Linked DNA regions of Homo sapiens: region 1 is linked to region 2. The links are contacts of gene promoters, found by promoter capture Hi-C in blood cells and fetal thymus (Javierre and others, 2016). All regions are on one chromosome and are shown on one strand. Each heading gives the region's core, a stretch centred on a gene start or on the middle of the fragment in contact. The rest is flanking DNA. Distances are from core to core; before and after follow the strand shown. Region 1 holds the start of TXNL1 (thioredoxin like 1). Region 2 holds the start of MBD1 (methyl-CpG binding domain protein 1).

Region 1 (3,752 bases), core at 69-2,568, 6.4 Mb before region 2:
GCGGTGGCTGCTGGGTGCCGCACGCCTTCCCATCCTCCTCCTCTCCCCTCCCCCATCCCTCCCCGCCCCCTCGGCCGCTCCGCTCCCTGGCGTGACTCGGCACTGAGAGTCCCGGGAGAAGACTCGGCGGTCGCCACCTCTTCTGTCCAGGCCTCGGCCTTCCTGAGCATCTCTCCTTCCTCTCCCAGATCGTCTTCTCCTTCAGTTTCAAAGCCAGTGGCGTCGCGGCCACCCTGCCGGGCTCTCTGTGAGGATGGTGGGGGTGAAGCCCGTCGGGAGCGACCCGGATTTCCAGCCAGAGCTGAGCGGCGCGGGCTCCAGACTCGCCGTGGTCAAGTTCACCATGAGAGGGTGAGGCCAGGCTCGAGCTCTGTGGGTCCCCGTCTGTCCTTCCTTGCTTTCCTTTCACTCTTTGTTGGCCCTGGTTTCCTAGCCGTCTGCTGCCCCGGAGTGTCCGGCAGTCGCCGCAGCCCCAGGAGCTGCCGGAATTAGGCCTCGTTTCTCGGGTGTGAACCCCCATTTATGCACAGGGGTTCCTAGACGGGCTCGGGGGCCTGGCTGGCCGGCTTCTCCAGCTCAGGAGATTTCTCACCTGCTCCTTTTCAATTCTTTGACAAACTGGTTTTGGGGGTGGCCCGCCCCTATTCCTTCCAGCCTGTGGGAGTCTCCGCAGCCACCCTTGCCTGAGCCTGACCCCTTCTTTCTGCAGAGCCAGCTGTCATTTGCATCTCCAGAGCTCCAAAAGCTTAATTTACCGAACACTTTGTTTCTCTTCACCACCTACATCTCTCTAAAGCCTTTGAAGATTCAGATGGGGCGATCTAACTAATATGCGTAGCTCTGAGTCCTGAATTTCTGCTAATGCATTTCGAACTAAGTTAACGTTGGGTTAGGGTGCTTTTTAAATTATTTGAACTTTTTTCTTCCTCGTTCGGCCACTAACTTGTAGCTTAGGCTCCCCTATGTATGCGATTGCAACTGGTCACACACGACAGTACATATATAATATATTTCAGGTGGACAGTTGGCCGGATGTCTTAGTTTGACCCGGCTCTGTTTTTTCACTTAAGAGGACAGGGATCTTGAAAAATGTTAACTGTCTTTGGTAAATATCAACAAAATTATAGGTCGTAGAAAAGGTGGACCTTTTATAGTGGATGTGTAGTAAAGTTCCTTTGTAAGAATGACATGTTGGAACTCGGCGTTGAGAACCAAGATTTCAGCGTGTGTGTGTGTTTCACAGATCTCTCCTTGTGTATGTCGATAGTATTTAGTTAGAAGTATGAGAGGTTTCCGCTTTATTTTCCTTGACCCCTTGGCGTTATTTATACATCTAACTTGGAGCAGTCTACTGCTGGTATCACTGTTTATGTAACACACTTTCTTGTCCAAATAACTGTATAAACACAAAATTCCATTTTGAATTTCAGAGCAAAAAACAAAGTTTCTACTAGATGGTTCACTAAATGTTGAGTATATAAATGGTGGCATTAGGATTATATCGTTTTAGGGAATGGATGCAGATAGATATGAAAACAAGTTAAGACTTATTTTTGGACCAGTCTCTCTTACACTGAATTGAAAAAGGATAGTACCTTGCATTTCATATGGTGGGCTAGAGTACCCATATGATATACGGAATTTTGCATTTACTAAATTTAAAAGGATAAGTGATGTCATATATATAAAACACCTAAAAGGAATGTTAGAATTCTATAAATGTGTCTTCTCATTTTTAGCAATTTTGTGATGTCTGTATTCTTAATAATAGGGGAATACCTGTAGTACATTAAGTATCTAGGCCACAGTAGAAAAGGGAAGATAGGATTTCAATAAGGAACCTCACCTCACTTTTAGTTCACTTATTCTAATTCTGGCCCGTCGAAGCTTTTATATTTTTGTCCCTCAATGATATATTGTTTTTCTCCCTTACCATAGCAGTGGGAGAGATAATAAAATAATAAATAAATATTGATTGAAGTGAGAAAACTGGGGAAACATTGCTGCGAAGGAAGGTTTTTTCTATCAGTGTGGTGTCACTTAAGCATAAGCATAACTGCAGACATTGATTGGTAAGGAACTGTTACATTTAAAAAGGTATTTTAGTGGAATTAAAATTTTTTTTCTTTGTAAAAACCGAGGGAAAATTAATGTTTGGATTTAGAGTAAGTTCAAAAGCATATTTATATTACGTTTACAAATCTGGTAAGATTATTGTATTTACCTTTAATATTCCTCGAACTTATTGGCCATTAATACATCCTGTCTAAACTCATTGTCAATAGAACCCCAGAATTATGTATATGACGGGTCAGTATTAGACTCAGAAACAACTGTATTCAGTAAAATCTTGTAAGAATCCTCTTAGATCAAAGTTAATGCTGTCCCAGTTTAGACTGAGGGCATAGTTTCTCCAGCACCTATTTCATTTCCTTTCCAACCCTATTTTAAACCTTTTTTCTTTTTTTTTAACCTCTATGCTTTATGCACTCTCAGTCTAAATTTTACTAAAATGATACATAGATTGTTCTCCTGTGTAAGAATCTTTAGTGGCTTATGATAAAATATATATAACATAAAATTGACCATTTAGCCATTTGTAAGAGTATAATTCATTGGCATTAAGGACAGTCAGCCCTCTGTATCCATGGATTGAACCAAATGTGGATAGAAAATATTTGGAGAAAAAAAATTGCATTTGTGCTGATCATGTACACACTTTTTTCTTGTCATTATTTTCTAAACAATACAGTATAACAACTATTTACATAGCATTTACCTTAGGCATTATAAGTAATCTAGAGATGATTTAAAGTATATGGGAGAATGGTCGTAGGTTATGTGCAGATACCATGTCATTTTCTATTAGGCCCTTGAGCATCTGTGATTTAGTGTCTTGCTGGAGGTCCTGAAACTAATCCCCCAGATACCCAGACATGACTATACAGTCACAATGTTGTGCCACCATCACCACTGTTTCCTATAACTTTAGACAGAAATTCTATATCCATTAAAGGATAACTCCCCATCCTTACTTCTCCAAAGGGACAAAACTGTACCCATTAAGCAGTAATTTGCCCCTCCCCATCTACCTCCTTGGTAACTTCTATTCTGCTTTCTGTCTCTATGAATTTGTCAATTTGTGGCACCTAATATAAGTGAAATCGTAACAATATTTGTCCTTTTGTTTTTGACTTCACTTAGCATAGTATTTTCAAGGTTCATCCATGTCTTAGTATGTCTCAGAATTTCATTCTTCTTTATAACTGCATAACATAATCCATTTATTTATATGGCAAATTTTGTATACCTGTTCATTTTTTGATGGACATTCCAGTTGTGTCTTCCTTTGGCTGTTGTGGATAATGCTGCTAGGGGACATTGCTATGCGGGGATCCCTGCTTACTTGCTTGCTTTTCTTTTTTCTTATTTGTTAGAGACAGGGTCTTGCTCTGTTGCCCAGGCTGGAGTGCAGTTTTGAGACGATGGCTCACTGCAGCATTGAATTCCTGGCCTCAAGCAATCCTCCCACATCAGCCTCTCAAGTAAATGGGACTACAGACACATACCACCATGCCCGCTAATTTATTTTTTGTTTTAGAGACTAAGTCTCACTTTGTTGCCCAGGCTGGTCTAAATCCTGGCTTCAAGCGACCCTCCCACGTCAGCATCCCAAATTGCTGGGGTTACAGGTGTGAGTCACTGCGCTGGGCCTTCTGTGCCCATTTTTGAATTGAGTGGTTTGTTTTTGG
Region 2 (4,015 bases), core at 807-3,306:
GCTCATCCCTCCAGTATGAGAGCCAGACGTCCTTTGGGTCCATGTACCCCACACGCATTGAAGGGTAAGTGAGGGTGCCACGCAGTGAGAGGTGGGGGGTTAAGGCGGGGGTCAGAAGTGGGATGTGTGTGGAGCTGGGGCAGGATACGGGCAACCAGCCAGGACAGATGGACCTCCCTTCCCTCCCTCTACTGCCCTCTCTACTCCAAATCCCCAGGGCCACACGACTCTTCTGTGATGTGTATAATCCTCAGAGCAAAACATACTGTAAGCGGCTCCAGGTGCTGTGCCCCGAGCACTCACGGGACCCCAAAGTAAGGTTTTCCCTCAGCTCCTCCCATTTTGCCCCTCCTCCCTGCCTCGCTGTCCCACATTCATCCCTTCCTTCCTCACCTCACTTTTCCTTCACTTTTTCCTCTCAGCTTCCCTGCTGCTTCACCCTCCATTCCTCCTTTTCCATGCCTCCTCACCGTTCCCTGAACCCTCCATTCTTTTCCTTCTCCCTCCTTGAGCCCCCATTCCTATTCTCCCTTATCACCGCTATTCATCCCCCCAACCTGGCCTCCTTGCAGGTGCCAGCTGACGAGGTATGCGGGTGCCCCCTTGTACGTGATGTCTTTGAGCTCACGGGTGACTTCTGCCGCCTGCCCAAGCGCCAGTGCAATCGCCATTACTGCTGGGAGAAGCTGCGGCGTGCGGAAGTGGACTTGGAGCGCGTGCGTGTGGTAGGTTTCTGTGCGGTTTTGGTGCTGCATGTGGTAGGTTTCCATGTCGGACGTGGCCGGGGCAGGCGGGGCTGCAGGTGTTCCTGCTTAGGACTCCTGCCGCTCCCTTGGCAGTGGTACAAGCTGGACGAGCTGTTTGAGCAGGAGCGCAATGTGCGCACAGCCATGACAAACCGCGCGGGATTGCTGGCCCTGATGCTGCACCAGACGATCCAGCACGATCCCCTCACTACCGACCTGCGCTCCAGTGCCGACCGCTGAGCCTCCTGGCCCGGACCCCTTACACCCTGCATTCCAGATGGGGGAGCCGCCCGGTGCCCGTGTGTCCGTTCCTCCACTCATCTGTTTCTCCGGTTCTCCCTGTGCCCATCCACCGGTTGACCGCCCATCTGCCTTTATCAGAGGGACTGTCCCCGTCGACATGTTCAGTGCCTGGTGGGGCTGCGGAGTCCACTCATCCTTGCCTCCTCTCCCTGGGTTTTGTTAATAAAATTTTGAAGAAACCAAGGAAGCTGTCTCCACATTGCTGCGGTTGCAACTGTTCCAGACTTCTGGATAAGATGGGGGGCGCCTGCACCCCGCGAGAGCCCAGGGACCCACATTCCCAGCCTCCCACGGGCAGAGGGTCTACGCAGCGCGCCTTCAGTGTGGTGACACCGCCCATGCATGCTCCTGTCTCCCACCCAGAGCTGTCGTCCGCTGTGGACGCCAGGCCCCGCCTTTTCCCCACAAGCCCCACGTTGGGGATCCGCCTCCTGCAGGGGCGCGCCCTCCCGCGTGCCTCAGTTTACCTGCGGTGTGGCACCGCCCCTTTCCCCGCCCCGCGCGCTCCCACAGCTGTTCGGCGGGGAGGAGGGAGCGGGACACGACCCCCCCTGGGGTTGATGTTCGGAGGGACCCACGAACACAGGATAGACCCCAGCGAGAGGTGGGAGAGGAGAGCGCCGGCAGGGCCAGGGAGTGCGCAGGCGCGAAGCAGCTTCCTTGCCGCGTTCGGTATCGGCTGTGGAGACCGCGGGAGGGAAGGGAGGGCGCAGGCGCAAGCCCTCCCCGACCGCTTCCCTTCAGGTTGAGGCTGGAAAGCGCATGCGCCAGCTAGATGGGCAGCGAGGAGAGCCGCAACTGCCAGTCCCTCGAAGGGGTTAGCTGTCGTTGAACGTCAGCACGCAGATGCAACTGGCTCTCGGCAGGGGGGCGCGCGCACCGCTGCGGAGCGCCGGCCCGTAGGCGCGGGAGCCTCCCTATTAAGGGCACGCGACATCGAGGCAATAGTGCGCAGGTGCTTAGCCAGAGGCGGAGCCCGAGAGGCAGGCAGCGGACTTCCGGTTCCGGGAGCAACGAACAGCCGCGGAGGCGACAGCTACCGCTTCAGAGGAGGCGGCCGCGGAGGAGGAGGAAGGGGAGGAGGGCGAGGCGGGAGGTGCAGGAGGGACCCTCGCCATGGGTCCACGGGCCTAGAGTGGCGGAAGATACCGGCCTGGTGCCAAACTGGTGAGACAGCCTTGGGGCTGGACGTGGAGAGCGCTCAGGCGGAGGATGGGAAGGAATTGTGGCTCAGAACGCTGACGGGGAGGAATGAAGGGCCCTCAGGCCGATAAGGGGGAGGAATGGCGGCGTCGGAATACTGACGAGGAGAAATGGGGGGATTTAGGCTGAGGACGGGAAGGAATGCAGCTCTGAACTCTGACAGGTAGGAGTGTCGGGATCCTGGGACGAGGACGGAGAGGAATGGTGGAGATCAGAACGCTAAAGGGAGACATCGGGGCATCTGAAGTTGAGAGAGAAATGGGGGTTCAGAACTCTGAGAGGGAGAAATGAGGGGCCCTCAGGCTGATGACAGGAGAAATAGAGGCTTTGGAATGCTGAAAGGGAGGAATAGGAGGCCCCATATAGAGGACGAGGAGCAGTAGGGGATCAGAATGGTGACAGTTAGGGATGGCATGATCCCGGGACAAGAACAGAGAGAATGGAGGAGGGTTCGGAATGCTGAGGGGAGAAATTAGGGTCTCTCTGGATGATAAGGGAGGAATGGAGGATGAGAACAGTAAGGAGGAGAAGTGGGGAACTTTTTGGCTGTAGAGGAAGGTTTGGGAGCTCAGACTAGGGAGAAATTGTGGGTGAGAACATTGAAGGAGAAGAAAAATAAGGGGGGAGGTCTTGGGCTGAGGAAGGGGAGGCATGGGAGGCTTCCAGTGTGAGGAATGGAAAAGATGAGGGGCTGTTCAGGCTATGGGTTGGAGCAGTTGTGTCTCGCAGAGGAAGTCGAGGTTGTAACACTGAGGTAGCAGGATAAGAGGACATCAGGCAGAGAAGGAATGGAGTGGTTAAAACACTGAAGGAGGGAAATTAGGAACTCCTGGGTCAAGGAAGGGGGGAATGAGAGACTACTGAAGTCAAGTAGTGAGGGCAAGAGAAATGGGGCCCTTTGGGGCTGAGGATGGGGACTATGGGGGTCTTGGGGTGATAAAATAGAGGGATAGAGGCCCTTAGGTCAGTGACAGGGAGGAATGAGGGGGAAGGATGAAAAGTTTCTGGATTGGCAGTGAGGAGAAATGATGGGTTGTCAGTCTGAGGATAGAGAGGAGTAGGGGATTAGGACACTGAGAATAAGAAACAGGGATCCTTGGGTTGAGGAATGATGATATCCTAGGCCCAGAATAGGAAAGAATGGGGTGAGAATATGAGGGGTTTCTTTTCCATATATGGGCTGGTTGCCTGTGGCAGGTCCTAGGGCTTGGGCAAGCACTAATGGATACCAGTGATTTGTGTGGCCTGGGGCACAGTGTTGTCCCTTCCTAGAGCCTCAGTTTCCCTCATCCCTTCCACCCCCTTTCAGGCTACTGCTGCTTCCTGTGGCCTCCATGGCTGAGGACTGGCTGGACTGCCCGGCCCTGGGCCCTGGCTGGAAGCGCCGCGAAGTCTTTCGCAAGTCAGGGGCCACCTGTGGACGCTCAGACACCTATTACCAGAGGTACTGGGTGGGTAGTGGGCAGAGTCAGGAGTGGGGTAGAGCCTGATTCTGGTAAAATCAAATGGTGTGGTTAAATTTATGGATGAAGTTTAAATTATGCACATACAGTTAATCCTTATTAGCGGATTTTATGTTTGAATTTCACCTACTTAATAAAATTTATTTGTAACTTAAAAGTCACTACTCACAGTGCATTTGTGATTATTCAAGAATACGTACAGAGCAGTGAAAAACTGTCACTCAATGCATGTATTTCTAGCTGAGGCTGAAGGAGCCCTTTTCAGCTTTAATACTGTAAACAGGTGTCCTTTTCGTGGTC

The links. The method cuts DNA at HindIII sites, captures the fragments that hold promoters and counts their contacts. A CHiCAGO score of 5 or more calls a contact.
Region 1: a fragment that was not itself captured here is called in contact with the fragment with the promoter of MBD1 in region 2 in 1 of 17 cell types (naive CD8 T cells); the score reaches 5.3 in naive CD8 T cells.

What each region holds. Positions count from the first base shown.
Region 1 is chr18:56,634,942-56,638,693 of GRCh38, reverse strand. TXNL1 (thioredoxin like 1) reads left to right here and starts at 102. Exons shown (of 8, transcript NM_004786.3): 1 at 102-351. The coding sequence starts at 254. RefSeq lists enhancers at 1-64, 224-283, 65-1,050 and a silencer at 1-73. The HindIII fragment of the contact is 1,142 bases long and covers 748-1,889 here.
Region 2 is chr18:50,279,564-50,283,578 of GRCh38, reverse strand. It overlaps MBD1 (methyl-CpG binding domain protein 1), which reads left to right and starts at 2,056. Exons shown (of 17, transcript NM_015846.4): 1 at 2,056-2,216; 2 at 3,562-3,696. The coding sequence starts at 3,587. It overlaps CXXC1 (CXXC finger protein 1), which reads left to right. Exons shown (of 15, transcript NM_014593.4): 12 at 15-64; 13 at 218-314; 14 at 573-725; 15 at 840-1,232. The coding sequence ends at 986. RefSeq lists enhancers at 817-1,397, 1,398-1,978 and silencers at 2,124-2,233, 2,244-2,323. The HindIII fragment of the contact is 20,722 bases long and covers 1-4,015 here.